Regions from separate parts of the Homo sapiens genome. Here region 1 is linked to region 2. The links are contacts of gene promoters, found by promoter capture Hi-C in blood cells and fetal thymus (Javierre and others, 2016). All regions are on one chromosome and are shown on one strand. The core of a region is centred on a gene start or on the middle of the fragment in contact, and the rest is flanking DNA. Distances in the headings are between cores, read along the strand shown. Region 1 holds the start of LOC105377936 (a long non-coding RNA gene). Region 2 holds the start of GPR6 (G protein-coupled receptor 6).

Evidence for each region. The method cuts DNA at HindIII sites, captures the fragments that hold promoters and counts their contacts. A CHiCAGO score of 5 or more calls a contact.
Region 1: a fragment that was not itself captured here is called in contact with the fragment with the promoter of GPR6 in region 2 in 2 of 17 cell types (non-activated CD4 T cells and total B cells); the score reaches 5.8 in non-activated CD4 T cells.

Annotation. Positions count from the first base shown.
Region 1 is chr6:110,414,682-110,421,227 of GRCh38, reverse strand. LOC105377936 (a long non-coding RNA gene) reads right to left here and starts at 5,584. Exons shown (of 2, transcript XR_942856.2): 1 at 5,441-5,584; 2 at 1,098-1,680. It overlaps DDO (D-aspartate oxidase), which reads left to right and starts at 5,653. Exons shown (of 5, transcript NM_001372108.2): 1 at 5,653-5,761. The HindIII fragment of the contact is 1,477 bases long and covers 923-2,399 here.
Region 2 is chr6:109,976,113-109,982,410 of GRCh38, reverse strand. It overlaps GPR6 (G protein-coupled receptor 6), which reads right to left and starts at 4,100. Exons shown (of 2, transcript NM_005284.5): 1 at 3,944-4,100; 2 at 1,691-3,316. The coding sequence starts at 3,298. The coding sequence ends at 2,210. RefSeq lists an enhancer at 2,864-3,669 and a silencer at 3,608-3,771. The HindIII fragment of the contact is 13,256 bases long and covers 1-6,298 here.

The DNA of each region.
Region 1 (6,546 bases), core at 412-2,911, 440 kb before region 2:
AAAAAAAAAAAAAAAAAAAAAAAAAAAAATTTCTTTTTCTTTACTGGAAGAAAAATTAGGCTTTTTGTTTGTTGTAAAAATTCACAAATGTTTATCGTGCAGGAAGCCAAACATACTTTGTTCCTTCAGCATTTCTTAATATGTGTAACCTTCTGATTTTATACTTGGAAAATGGTGATGATCTATAATAGTTGGAACCTAGTCATAACACATCCGATCTGTCTCTGATTGCAAATATTTCAAGGAGTACTTTACCATAGCATTACAATGAATGGAGGACAAACCACACACAAGTAGGTAAGATTCAGATAGGTGACCTTGTTTCTCAGTTCTATGTCACTGAGGTTAATGCACTAACTTGACTTTGACAGGCTACGAAGTGTGAGAGGCAATGGAAGCCTGGAAATAAAAAAGCCCTGACTATAAGCATTCCTGCTTAAGCAAACCAATCTCTCTTTACCCCAATCTTCTCATTTGGAAATTCAGGATTATCATACAATGTCCCTCTGGGAATGGGAAAATTAAATGAAATAATATATCAACACCATTTAACGCCACTCTGCACAGTCCCGATATTTTACAAGGCTATTTCTCCATTCACTGTATGTGATTCCACCCTCATTAGGTGTCCTGCCCAGTCTTGGTCTTGGCCAGTGGGCATGGGGGCCCCGTCTATCAGTGCTCCACATGTGTCGCTGTCCTGACTGTGCCCTACCACACACTGTTGTCCTCCCTCATGGACTCTGCAGTTTAGCTACCTGGAGATACTTCTGCAGTTTCCCTTTTGCTCCAGTGGTTAGTTCCAGTCCATGATAGCTGTAGGCAAGACTCACTGAAGCTAATGACGCATAAACTTCAGGCTCCTTCAGTTGGACAGGCTCCTGTGATGGAGCGTAGTAATGGGTCCACTTGGACATAAGCTTTCACAGAATTTTGTACATTTTGCAAAAGTAAGATCTAGTCACTACAATCAGCTGAGACCATCATATTTTTCCACTTGGTTTTCCCTTCTATCACATTCCTCCTCTGCCAGATGTTATCAAAGTGGTCACAGGCATTCTTTTCTTTTGTGATTTTGTATTTTTTTCCTCTTAAAAGGGCTCTTGAAACTGTACAAACTTCAGACCCCACAAAAGCTGAATCTTTCCCCTGAATCACTGTTAAAAGGTGTGTTGTTAGGGAGGTTCATACTCAAAATATGCTCCGAATGTACTCAATTAAATGCTCTGTTCTGAGGGGCCCACCTGTGCCCTTTCTCTCATTCCTATCAAATATGTAACGAAAACATACTAAGTGCAAAATGGTGTAGGCAAAGCAGGTACTTAATAAATTCTTGTATATGGTGAAGAGGAGTATTTTCTTATCGAAGATGGTAAAGCTGACTATGGCAGCCAACGTCTTTGGCAACTTCCCCCAACAGAATGTCTGGAAGTTTCGATGTTTGTTGTTTTACTTGAATTTGCCAGAAGTCAGTGATGGCTGCTGTTTTTATGTCTGAAGTCTACAGTGCACCAACGTTTCACTGGCAACTGCTTGTTCTCTAAGTAAACTTTTTTTTAATTCCCAGCCTCTCTCTGGGCTCACCCATGCCAGTTGGTGTCAGCCATTCTGCTGAAATTGAGGATCTGAAGAACATCTTAAGCAATTCTTGGGTAAAAGATCCACTGTCAGAGATTTTATCTGTAGGAACAAGTTGGGGGAGCAGGTGGTCAGCATGCTACCTGATTCTTGATTAGTTAGCAGTTTCAGGGGAGCAGGTCAAAAGTACACCAACCCACCCTGGTCAATGTTTAACTAGAATTCTCCATAAAGCCTGGCTTATAATCTCATTAACCCTATGAGGACGATTTCACTGTCCTACTTCCCTGCCCCAAACTGCTGTACACATGGGAATCCCTGGCCCCTGAGCCTGATATCTTCAATAGTCTTCTGATGAACGCAGGCTTAGGTCCTGCATTTACTGGCCACAGACACACCAGCAAGGCTAACACCCTGCAAGCCAGAAACACCCATGGAGAGCACAGCAAGAGGGGGAGGGTGGCTAGAGAGACCCTAAATGTGCTGCAGAGGTGAGGCCCTGGGGACCTCTGCAGCCCAAGTTTAAAAGTCTCCGAAGAAGCGTTGGGAAGATGATGAAGCCCAGCTCCCCTGCAGTCTCAGGGAGATCACGTCAACACTTCAGACCCCAACCACTAACCTGGAAAACAACACTAGATTCTCCCCAGGTGGTTCCTGAGGCCCCTTTTAGAAGTTACCCTCAATGATACCTAAATCAGTTTTCCCATCCATTTTCTGAAGGACCCTTCACTTAAGTCATAGTGCTAGAGCTCTGCGTTTAAAAAAAAAAAAAGGATTTATTAGTCCTATCTGTATAGACTCTGCACTACTACAGAGAAGCTTTCTTTCTGGGTTTCATTTCTGAGTATGTCCTCCTCTTCTTGCTTTTCAGGAAAACATGGAGTCCTAACCTGGGCGGGAGGAAGAAAGAGCCTTCTCAGATCTCTTCCGTGGCTCCCATTACTTTTTGAACACAGTCTTGCATCCTAGCCAGATTTCCAGCACTTTCACACCCTGGTCTTGCACAAACCTCCCCATGAACCCCCTTCTCTTTCCTCAGGTCACTTTGAACTTCCTGCCTCTGTGGCTTTGTCTCTCCAGAGATTTTTCTCCCTCCTCTTGTTTGTCCATCGAAATCCCACTGATTGATTAGGGCCTTCCTCACTTCCCATGTACGCTCCTGGACTAGCCACTTGGGTCCACTGTACTCCTCTCTCTCCTGATCCTTCCCAGCACCTGCAGTATGTGCTGTTGGTTAGAGGACAGTCTTATTCTGCCTTGTTTCCTTTCTTGAGGGAGCAAACATCTCAGAAGTTCTTAAATCTTTTATAGCCCTTGCAGTATGTCTTGGACAAAGTGGCTGCTCCATAAATGTTTGTTGATTGATTTTTATAGTAGGTGCTCAATAAAATATGTATACCACCTGTGATACTGGGAACTATGTATTTGGTCTTCATTCCCATTTCCTGACATATAGCTCCTAAAACCCTTGGAATCCTCAGAGTGATAAGAGTGTCTTTTGTATGCTAATGAGATATCTGGTGGCTGGAGCCCTGTAGTAAGCTTCAGGATGGGAGCTGGTCATCTGGAAATGACAAGACATGATTAGAGAGTGGGGACTTTCAGCCCTATCCCCAACCTCTAGGGAGAAGGGGTTGAAGGTTAAGTTGGTCACTAGTGGCCAATGTTTTAACCATCATGTCTACATAATAAAGCTTTCATTAAAAAAAAAAAAGGAAAAACACAAGACTGTGTTTAGGGAGCTTCCAGATGGCTGAATATGTGGAGGTTCCTGGACGTTGTGCCCCCAGAGAGGGCACGGGAGCTCCTTGCCCGTTCCCATATGCCTAGCCCTGGCCCTCTCTTCCACATGGCTCTTCATCTGCATCCTTTGTAATATCCATATTAATAAATGGGTAAAGGTAAGCAAAGTGTTCTTTTGAGTTCTGGAGCCACTCTAGCAAATTGAACCATTATTAATTGAACCTGAAAAGGGGCTTGTAGGGACCCCGATTTATAGCCCACCAGTCAGAAACCCACAACCTGGGGCTTGTGATTGGCATCCAAAGTAGGGTAAGTCTTGTGGGACTGAGCCCTTAACCTGTGGGATCTGACACTATCTCCAGGTAGCTGGTGTCAGAATTGAATTGAATTAGAGGACATGCAGCTGAAGTGTCTGCTAGGGAATCTGCAGAATGGGATGCTTGGTGTGTAGGGAGACAACCCCCACACACCTGGTCACAGAAAGTGTTCTGTATTCAGTGACTGTGACAGTATTGAGCATAGCCAGAGAAAAAGTTGCTTTTCCCCACCACCCCCTCACCGGCCCTCAGACCACCTTACAAAGAATTGTACATATCTCAACTTATCAGAGACCTACAACAACTTGCAAGGGATTCTTAGTTCATTCTCAGTTTTCAGATGGGCAATCCAACTCAGAAGTCAGGTGATTTGCTCAAGGTAAAAATGCAGGTCTCTTGAAACCAAAGTTTGTGTTTTGGTTAAGGGCTTGAGCTTTGGCTGGGCACAGTGGCTCAAGCCTGTAATCCCAGCACTTTGGGAAGCCGAGGCGGGCAGATCACAAGGTCAGGAGATCGAGACCATCCTGGCTAACATGTTGAAACCCCGTCTCTGCTAAAAATACAAAAAATTAGCCAGGTGTGGTGGCGGGCGCCTGTAGTCCCAGCTACTAGAGAAGCTGAGGCAGGAGAATGGCATGAAACCAGGAAGCAGAGCTTGCAGTTAGCTGAGATAGAGCCACTGCACTCCCGCCTGGGTGACAGAGCGAGACTCCATCTCAAAAAAAAAAAAAAAAAAAAAAAAGAGCTTGAGCCTTGACGTCAGATATCCAGACTGGATTTTACCATTTAAGAGACCCTGGACCCTTCCTTACTGTCTTGGAGCCTCAATGTACTCATATACAAAATGGGGATAGTGATAATAGTACCTACTTCATAGGGTGGTTGTGATATATGATGTCATACATGTGTCTAGCACATGGTTAATGCTACATATACATTATTGAAAATATTATTGTCACTAATTTGACACATCACACTGCCTCCCTGGAAACAAACTTGTTAACTGTGCCTCATGCCTAGAGCTCAGTAGACACTCATCAAATATTGAATCCCTTCTTTGAATATGTGGGCTAAATCAGGGATCCCAAATCCCCAGGCCACAGACCACTACCAGTCCGTGGCCTGTTAGGAACTGGCCTCACAGCAGGAGGTGAGCCGTGGGTGAGCAAGCAAAGCTTTGTCTTCATTTATACCCACTCCCTATCATTTGCATTACTGCCTGAGCTCTGCCTCTTGTCAGATCAGCTGAGGCACTAGATTCTTATAGGAGCACAAACCTACTGTAAACTGCGCACACAAGGGATCCAGTTTGTGTGCTCTTTATGAGAATCTAATGCCTGATGATCTGTCACTGCCTCCCATTACTTTCAGAGAAAACCATCTAATTGCAGGAAAACAAGCTCAGGGCTCCCACTAATTCTACATTATGTTGAGTTGTATAATTATTTCATTATATATTACAACGAATAATAATAAAAATAAAGTGCACAGTAAATGTAACACACTTGAATCATCCTGAAACCATCTCCCCATCCCCAGTCTGTGGAAAAATTGTCTTCCATGAAACCAGCCCCTGGTGCCTAAAAGGCTGGGGACTGCTGGGCTAAAGAATCATGTGGTTCTATCCTAGATTATCTCCTGAATAGTGTTTCCAGCTCCAATCAATCAACAACATTACTCAGCCCTCACCCCCTCCTTCCTGCTTCCCCCACCAGCTGACCCAGCAGAGCCAGGCACCCGGCTAACTGTGGGCAGCCAAACGAGGTTGGAAGTTGGACAGGCTCACCCATTATTCACCATACCTACAAATCAGCTGGAGAAAGCCCAGGCTGGCGGCCAGACAGAGGGCTCGTGGGCCAGAAAGGGAAGGGCTTGGCAGAGACAGCGCCATGGAGATGACAGGTTGAGGTCACTTGCTCCTTTCTCCGGGGCAATGGGTGACAGAGACAGCCATGCAGGCCAATGGAAAGGAAGACCAGGGGGAATGTCCTGAATCAAGTCACCAATGGGAATCAGTTTCGCTTTCTCTCTGTCTCTCAGGGCATGAGACCAGCCAGGCACTGGGAAACAAGGTTTGGTGCCAGAGATTTTGGTGGCTTCCAAGACTGCTTTTTCAGAGACAGGTACTTGAATTCTTGCTTTCAGCTGAGGGGTCGTTCCGTCCATGCTCTGGGAGTTTGGGAGTGTGTCTGAATAGGGTCAGGGGACAGTGATGGACAGGCCACTGTGCCAGGACACACCACATTGCTCGCTCACTCCTCCTCCCTGGCAGCTGGTTATTCTTAGCCACAGATTGCTTGCCCTTTCAACTTAGTTTATTAGAGCTGTTTTGAGAGAGTTGCTGGACATGGGAGGCTGATGTGAAACAGCGAAGTCAATAAGGTCACTGGTGGCTGCAGGACAGCTCTACTCAAGCTGGCCCCCACCAGACTGCTCTGGCCTGGGCCCGTTCCCTTCTCTTCCCTCAGCCCTGGCAGGCCCACTCTCTCTCAGCTGACCAGCCCACTGTACAGCAATCAAATTAACGTATCAAATTAGCACAGAAATGCATAGACTGCTCGAGGAATAGGAATATCACACTAAACTTCATTGGAGGGCTTTAAAGTCTCATAGTGCGAGAATCTTCAGAACTGGAAGAGAAAGCAGAGGCCACTAACAACCAAGCCCACGTTTTTCCTGCCAACAGCCCTTGCTGAGGAAGCTGCCCAGCCTTCCAGAGGAAAGGTGAACCTCTGTGTGTGGGTGGCCATGGTTTGTACCATGTGGCCCAGTACCCTGATTACTGTGCTTTGGACAGAGAAGGGCAACTATGCCAAGGGCACATTCAGAGGCTGGTTTAGCCCAGCAAGTTGGCCTGGTGCTAGAATTTTGTCCAACAGGGGATGCAATGACCAACTGGTACAACTGC
Region 2 (6,298 bases), core at 2,851-5,350:
TTGTTTGCTTGTAGGCCATCTTCCCCACTAGAAGGTAGCACTATGGAGTTCAGAGACTTCTTGCCTGTTTTTTTTTTTTCACTTCCATATTCCAATCCGTGGAATTGTGTCTAGGAACTCAATAGTAGGATAGTAGGAACTCAATAAATTTGCTTGTGTGTATTTTCCTAAGGCATAAGAGTAGTAACGACTTGTGCTGGTGTGCATATTAATTCACAGAGGGTTCAGAGCATGCCCTCATGTGTTCTCCAATTTATCCTCACATCATCCTATAAGAAGGGAAGGAGGGGAATCATCATGACTCACATCTATCAGTGGAATAAGAATGTTTAGTGCTTAAGGATTTTAGTGCCCTCTTTTGAAGGTGAGAGCACCTCAAGAGAGGATACTGGATATACTTTTGTGTACCTCATGAGGTCGGAGGTATATATCTTGGAATTCTGTCTTGGAAGAATTTATTCATTTTACAAGCCTGTGCATTTTACTACAAGATCTGGCCAGCGACAATGTATTAAGTCAACATGAATTTTAGACATTTAAAATTCTTGCCATACTGGAAAAATTACAAATGAAAGTTGTGGTTTCAGGATTCACAAGTGCACAGGGAATGAGAGGAAGATATGTTTTCGGACATCCTCGGATACTTGTTTTCCAAACCCACTAACCAAGGGAGTAGACTAAATTGCACAGATAACACCAGTAACCCTTTGTTGTCCTGTGAATACTGCCACATGAATATATTACTCCCTTCCTGCACCCTCCCTCCCCAACCACAATGATATAAATTTGGTATTTCAGTGAAAGTTTATGAACAATGTGCAAATGCATATGATTTTTTTACGTTAAGGTTTTCTCAGGAGAATGATGCTACATAATAAACTTGCAATTGCAAGGATACGGAACCAACCTACTTGCCCTTCAACCAAGGATTGGATAAAGAAAAGATGATAGATAGATGATAGATAGATAGATAGATAGATAGATAGATAGATAGATAGATAGATATAGATATAGATATACTATGGAATACTACTCAGCCATAAAAAGGAGTGAAATAATGTCTTTTTCAGCAACCTGGATGAAGCTGGAGGCCATTATTCTAAGTGAAGTAACTCAAGAATGAAAAATCAAATACAATATGATCTCCCTTATAAGTGGGAGCTAAGCTATGAGGACACAAAACCATATAGAGTGATATAATGGACTGTGGGGACTTGCAGTGGGGAGAGGTTGGGAGGGAGGTGAGGGATAAAAGATTACATATCAGGTACAGTGTACACTGCTCAGGTGACAGGTGCACTAAAATCTCAGAATTCACTACTAAAGAACTCATCTATGTAACCAAAAAAGGCACCTGTACCCTCAAAACTACTGAAATTTTAAAAACTTAAAAAAATAAATAAAGTAAGGTGAGTGCTGTGGCATGCCTGTAGTCCCAGCTACTAGGGATGCTAAAGCAGGATTTCTTGGGCCCAGGAGTTCAAGGCTGCACTGAGCTATGATTGTGCCACTGCATTCAGGCCTGGGCGACAGAGTGAGACTCTATCTCGAACAAACGAAAGAGAAAGAAAGAAAGCAAGAGAAAGCAAGCAAGCAAGAAAGAAAGAAAGGAAGAAAGAAAGGAAAGAAAGACACTCATACACTTACAATTCAGCTAATTGTAATTCTATAGTCAGTGACATACCCCAAATTACATTCTTGTAATGGGTTTATTCGTGTACAAAACATGTTGTAATTTGTTGATGCATGTGCAGCAAAATATTCTATCACATACGACAAAAATACACCTTTTACTCCCTTTTCCCTGCCCTTGAAAATGGCAACACTGTTTTGGCAGTTCAGCAGCTAAAAATAAAGTGCTATAATTAAGCAGTATTGGAATGTCTTCGTTTGACAAACGTGATGTACAATTTGAGTATACAACCATATCTTTTTCTTGGTTTTTCACAGAATAGGAAGCTCCACATCCTGAACACCTCCAGAAGATACAAATATTTGTATATATATGTACACATGTATACACTGTATATGTAAAGTGCCAACAAGCCTCTTTGTCCTTGTAAGTTTGTTACATTTCTCTTTAGTCCCTTTTTCTTTCCAAAGTCAGACTCACACCATTGGGATCTCAGAGTTCGTCAGCAGGCACCGAGCTTACCAAAGGCTGGCTTGTTGGGGTGTGGTGTTGGTGAGAGGACACGGGGCGAGCCCTTCAGACCTCGCTGGGAGACCTGGAACGAAAGGGCACTTTGGACTGGAAACAGCCACAGAGCAGGAGCCACAGGGCGCGCTGGATCTCCTGGTTGCGGAAGGCATAGATGATGGGATTGATCATGGAGTTGTAGGTGGCGGGCAGCAGGGTGGCGTAAGTGTAGACCGCCGGGTCCTCATGGCTGCCCACCACGCAATAGATGGCGAAGGGCAGCCAGCTGGCGCCGAAAGTGCCCAGCACCACAGCCAGTGTACCCACACCCTTTCTGGTGGCAGCGAGATGGGGTGGCGCCAGGCAGTGCTGCTGCAGCGCGATCTGGTGCGCGTGGCGCCAGACCACCTGGCAGATGCGCACGTACAGGTGCAGCATGATGCCGAAGACCATGAAGAAGGCGGCGGAGAGCAGAGCCACGTGGCTGCGCGCCAGCGGGCGCACCACGCTGCAGGCGGCGCGCTCTGCCAGGCAGTTCCAGCCCAGCACGGGCAGCAGCCCCAGGCCTAGGGACACGGTCCAAGTGGCGGCAAGCAGGAGGTGCACGCCCAACAGGGTCCGGCGCGAGTAATAGGTGAGCGCGTTATACAGGGACAGGTAGCGGTCCACCGTAATGGCCAGCAGGCTGCTGACAGAGGCGGCGAAGGAGGCCACGAGGAAGCCCACCGTGAGCAGACTCACAGTCTCCGAGGGCACCAAGTACTGGAACACAAAGTGCAAGATGAGGCCACAGCCCGCCAACAGGTCAGCGGTGGCCAGGCTGCCTACCAGCACGAACATGGGCGTGCGCAGCGCCGGAGTGGACGCGATGAGCGCCACCACCAGCGCGTTTTCTCCAGCGATCACTGTCCCCGACACGCACAGGAGCACGTCCCACGGATTCACCGCTGGCAGCAGGAGTCCCGGTGGCCCAGCCGACAGCTGCGAGGACAGCTCCAGAGACCCATTAGCTCCGCCGCCGGCTCCTAGAGCCGCCGCAGCAGGGGGTCCCCATTCGCCCGTGTCCGGCCCCCCTGCTGCTGTGGCCGCCGCCGCCGCTCCTTCGGCCGCCACTACCACCACCTGGGAGTCGTTGAGCGAGGCGGCGCTCGCGTTCATCGCGGCCGGATTTGCACCCTGCATAGGGAGGGAGTGCAGGCGTCAGGTGTACACTTCAGGCTGCCAGGAAACTTCCCCACGCGTAGAGCCTCCTCTCGCATTGCCCCACTTGAGTTGCCCACCCCACCCTGGGACCCCAGAGCAAATCGGGGAATCATGGGTTAAGTGCGAACCCAAAATAAATACCTGTTGAGTGAGTGAGTGAAATGCCCACGCGGACTTCTGAGTTTTTGCAGATATACACCAGGACAACATGCACTCACATGCACAAGGATCAATTCTCCAAGGCTGCCTGTATTTGCACACGCACCCGAGTGCACCAAGCTAGGAGTGTCATCCTGGGAGAGTCCCGCCTGGGTTGTGGCGGCGCGACCAGGACATCCCCATGGGGCTGGGCAGCAGAGACGCTGTCCGCGGTGCTGAAAGCGAAGTTTCTGGCATTGCGAAGCCTGGAGAGTCCTGGAGCCCAGAGACCCCTGCGAAGGGGGTCTGGGAGGAGAGACTAGGGTGTGTGTATGGGGGCAGCAGAGGGTGGGAGTCAAGGTTGGCTCCATTTCTCCTCTTCTGGAAAGACCTGTCCCCTGGATATCTTTCTCCCCTCCTCTCCCCACATCCTCAAAGTTCCCTGGGAACTCGGCCACTCACCTGGGGCGTCAGGACTTCTGGAAGTCGCTGGTCATGGGCGCCGAGGCGGGGCGCCGGGCTGAGCTCCCCGCGCAAACAGAGCAGCTGCCTGCAGGAGGCGGCCGGGCCGGGGAGGAGGCAAGCGCGGGGCGCCTGTCGCTGTGCCGGCTCCGCGAGTGAGAGATACAGTTGGTGGCAGAAAAGGCGGCTGCGAGCGGCGCGCGCTGCAGATTGACAGGCAGGGCGTGGTGACGTCAGGCTCCCGGCTCCCGGTGCGAGCCCAGCACTCACTCTCCTCGCCAGCCCATCCTGTGCCCTCCCCGCCGCACTCCCCCTGCCCCCAACACTATCTGAGGGTCCTAGGAGGGAGGAGAAGCCAGAGCAACCACCTCCAGTCCAGAACTTCCAGGAATGGGATGGGAGAGAGACAAGGAGAGGTAGAAAGGAGTGAAGAAGACCCTGAGACCAGGCGGCGAAGAGGGTGAGCTGGGAGGGGAGGGGTGAAGGATGAGTGACACCTGCCGGGCAGCAAAGCCCAGCGTCAAAGATCACTGAGGGATCAGGTCAAAAAAGAAACCCCGGAGAAGGGGGAGGTTGGGACAGGGGTGTTTGATGGGAAAGTAGCTACCTTTAAAAAAAAATGCCGTTCCCGAAACAGGAATTATCTGGGAAAAGAAATTCACTTTTTAAAAATTTTATTTATTTATTTATTGAGACAGAGTCTCACTCTGTCGCCCAGGCTGGAGTGTAGTCGCCCGATCTCGGCCCACTGCAACCTCTGTCTCCTGGGTTCTAGCGATTCTCCTGCCTCAGCCTCCCCAGTAGCTGGAATTACAGATGTACGCCACCACGCCCAGCTAATTTTTGTAGAGATGGGGTTTCGCCATGTTGGTCAGGCTGGTCTCGAACTCCTGACCTCGTGTGATCCACCCGCCTCGGCCTCCCAAAGTGCTGTTATTACAGGTGTGAGCCACCTCACCAGGCCTGAAATCCAATTTTTAAAAAGGATGTTTGTGGTACATGCTCAGTTGAGTAGAGTCAGGGAAGAAATTCTGAGTTATGGGGAGCAGTTAAAAGATGGATAAGACAGGGACATCTGAGGAAAACAATCTCTTCTTTTGGAGGTTGCCTGTGCAATTCCTCTCTTTCCCATTATCTTTTCTGAACTCTACACAGCAGGTTTCACTGTGACCTTTTCGGCCCATGTTTTCCCGATTTCGGTAGCTGATATCGCCCTTGGAACTTGCGCTTTAATTAAAGACCAGGTCTGCATCTTGCTAGAGAAAAGGAAAACAGCAAAATGTGATTTACTTTCTTGGCTTCAGACTTTGCCCTGTTAATTAGTACCCTATAAAACAAATTACAGGACGAAAATCGTGATAACTCAGCTGCACCAGACTTCAGTAGGCAGGAGTTTTATTTTCAGCCCAGATAAATCATCCTTTTGTTTTAAAGGTGTTTTGTTTTGTCAGTAAGATACGAATATTAGTCTTCTTATTCTCTTTCTTCTCCCAGAATGTGCAGTAGCTGTACCTGGGCAAGAGCTAAAATAGTTGATGCCATCTGAGGTTCTAAAATAGATGATTGCACATTGGCATGATGGCATTGCACAGAGGCCACAGCCATACTTTTCAGGGACCACATGGTCTGGGAAAAGTGAAAATTGGCAACATTTGTTGCTAGTGCTCCCCCTACTTCTCCCTGTGGACCCTTTCCTCCCTTCACTTTGCCTCTAGCTCCAAAGAGGGGAAAAAAGATATTCAGACTGTCCATGGGTTGGAGGATAAGTTTACCCTAGGTTGCTGCCTTTAAACATGACCCCCAAGTCCAGACTATTCCTGCCTCAATGCAGCCAACTTAATTACAAGAACAAGGGACATATGACAGTTCAATTATTTGGTGCAATAGCTGATGTTGGACAGAAAGTGAGTTTACACACAATTTATCCATTTGGAGAGCTTAAAAAAATCCACACACCACTATTTTCTTGAACCCAAAACTTGGCTGAAGTTCTAAATTTCTGAAAAGAGCCGTTTTGTGTTTCGGTACAAGATTGTCATCTAAGAGTCAAGAATGTTATTTCAGAGCTGTCAAGTGAGCCGTCAAACCACTGTAACAGCATGTTAACTGAGGATTTTCCAAATGATCAGATAAAAGCCCAAGGGGAGGAGAATCCTCCTTAATATCTAAGTATGTTCCATTTTCACATGCCACAATGTAGCAGAAAGTATGAGGTTAAAATTGAACCTACCACAGGATCTCTGAATATCCTTAGGCTTCAACATTACCAAGAATGGATTTCTCAGTGATTTCCAGAGGAAGACAACACATGTAGAATCATGTACATAAATGATGGTTGAGGATATGTAGACTGAC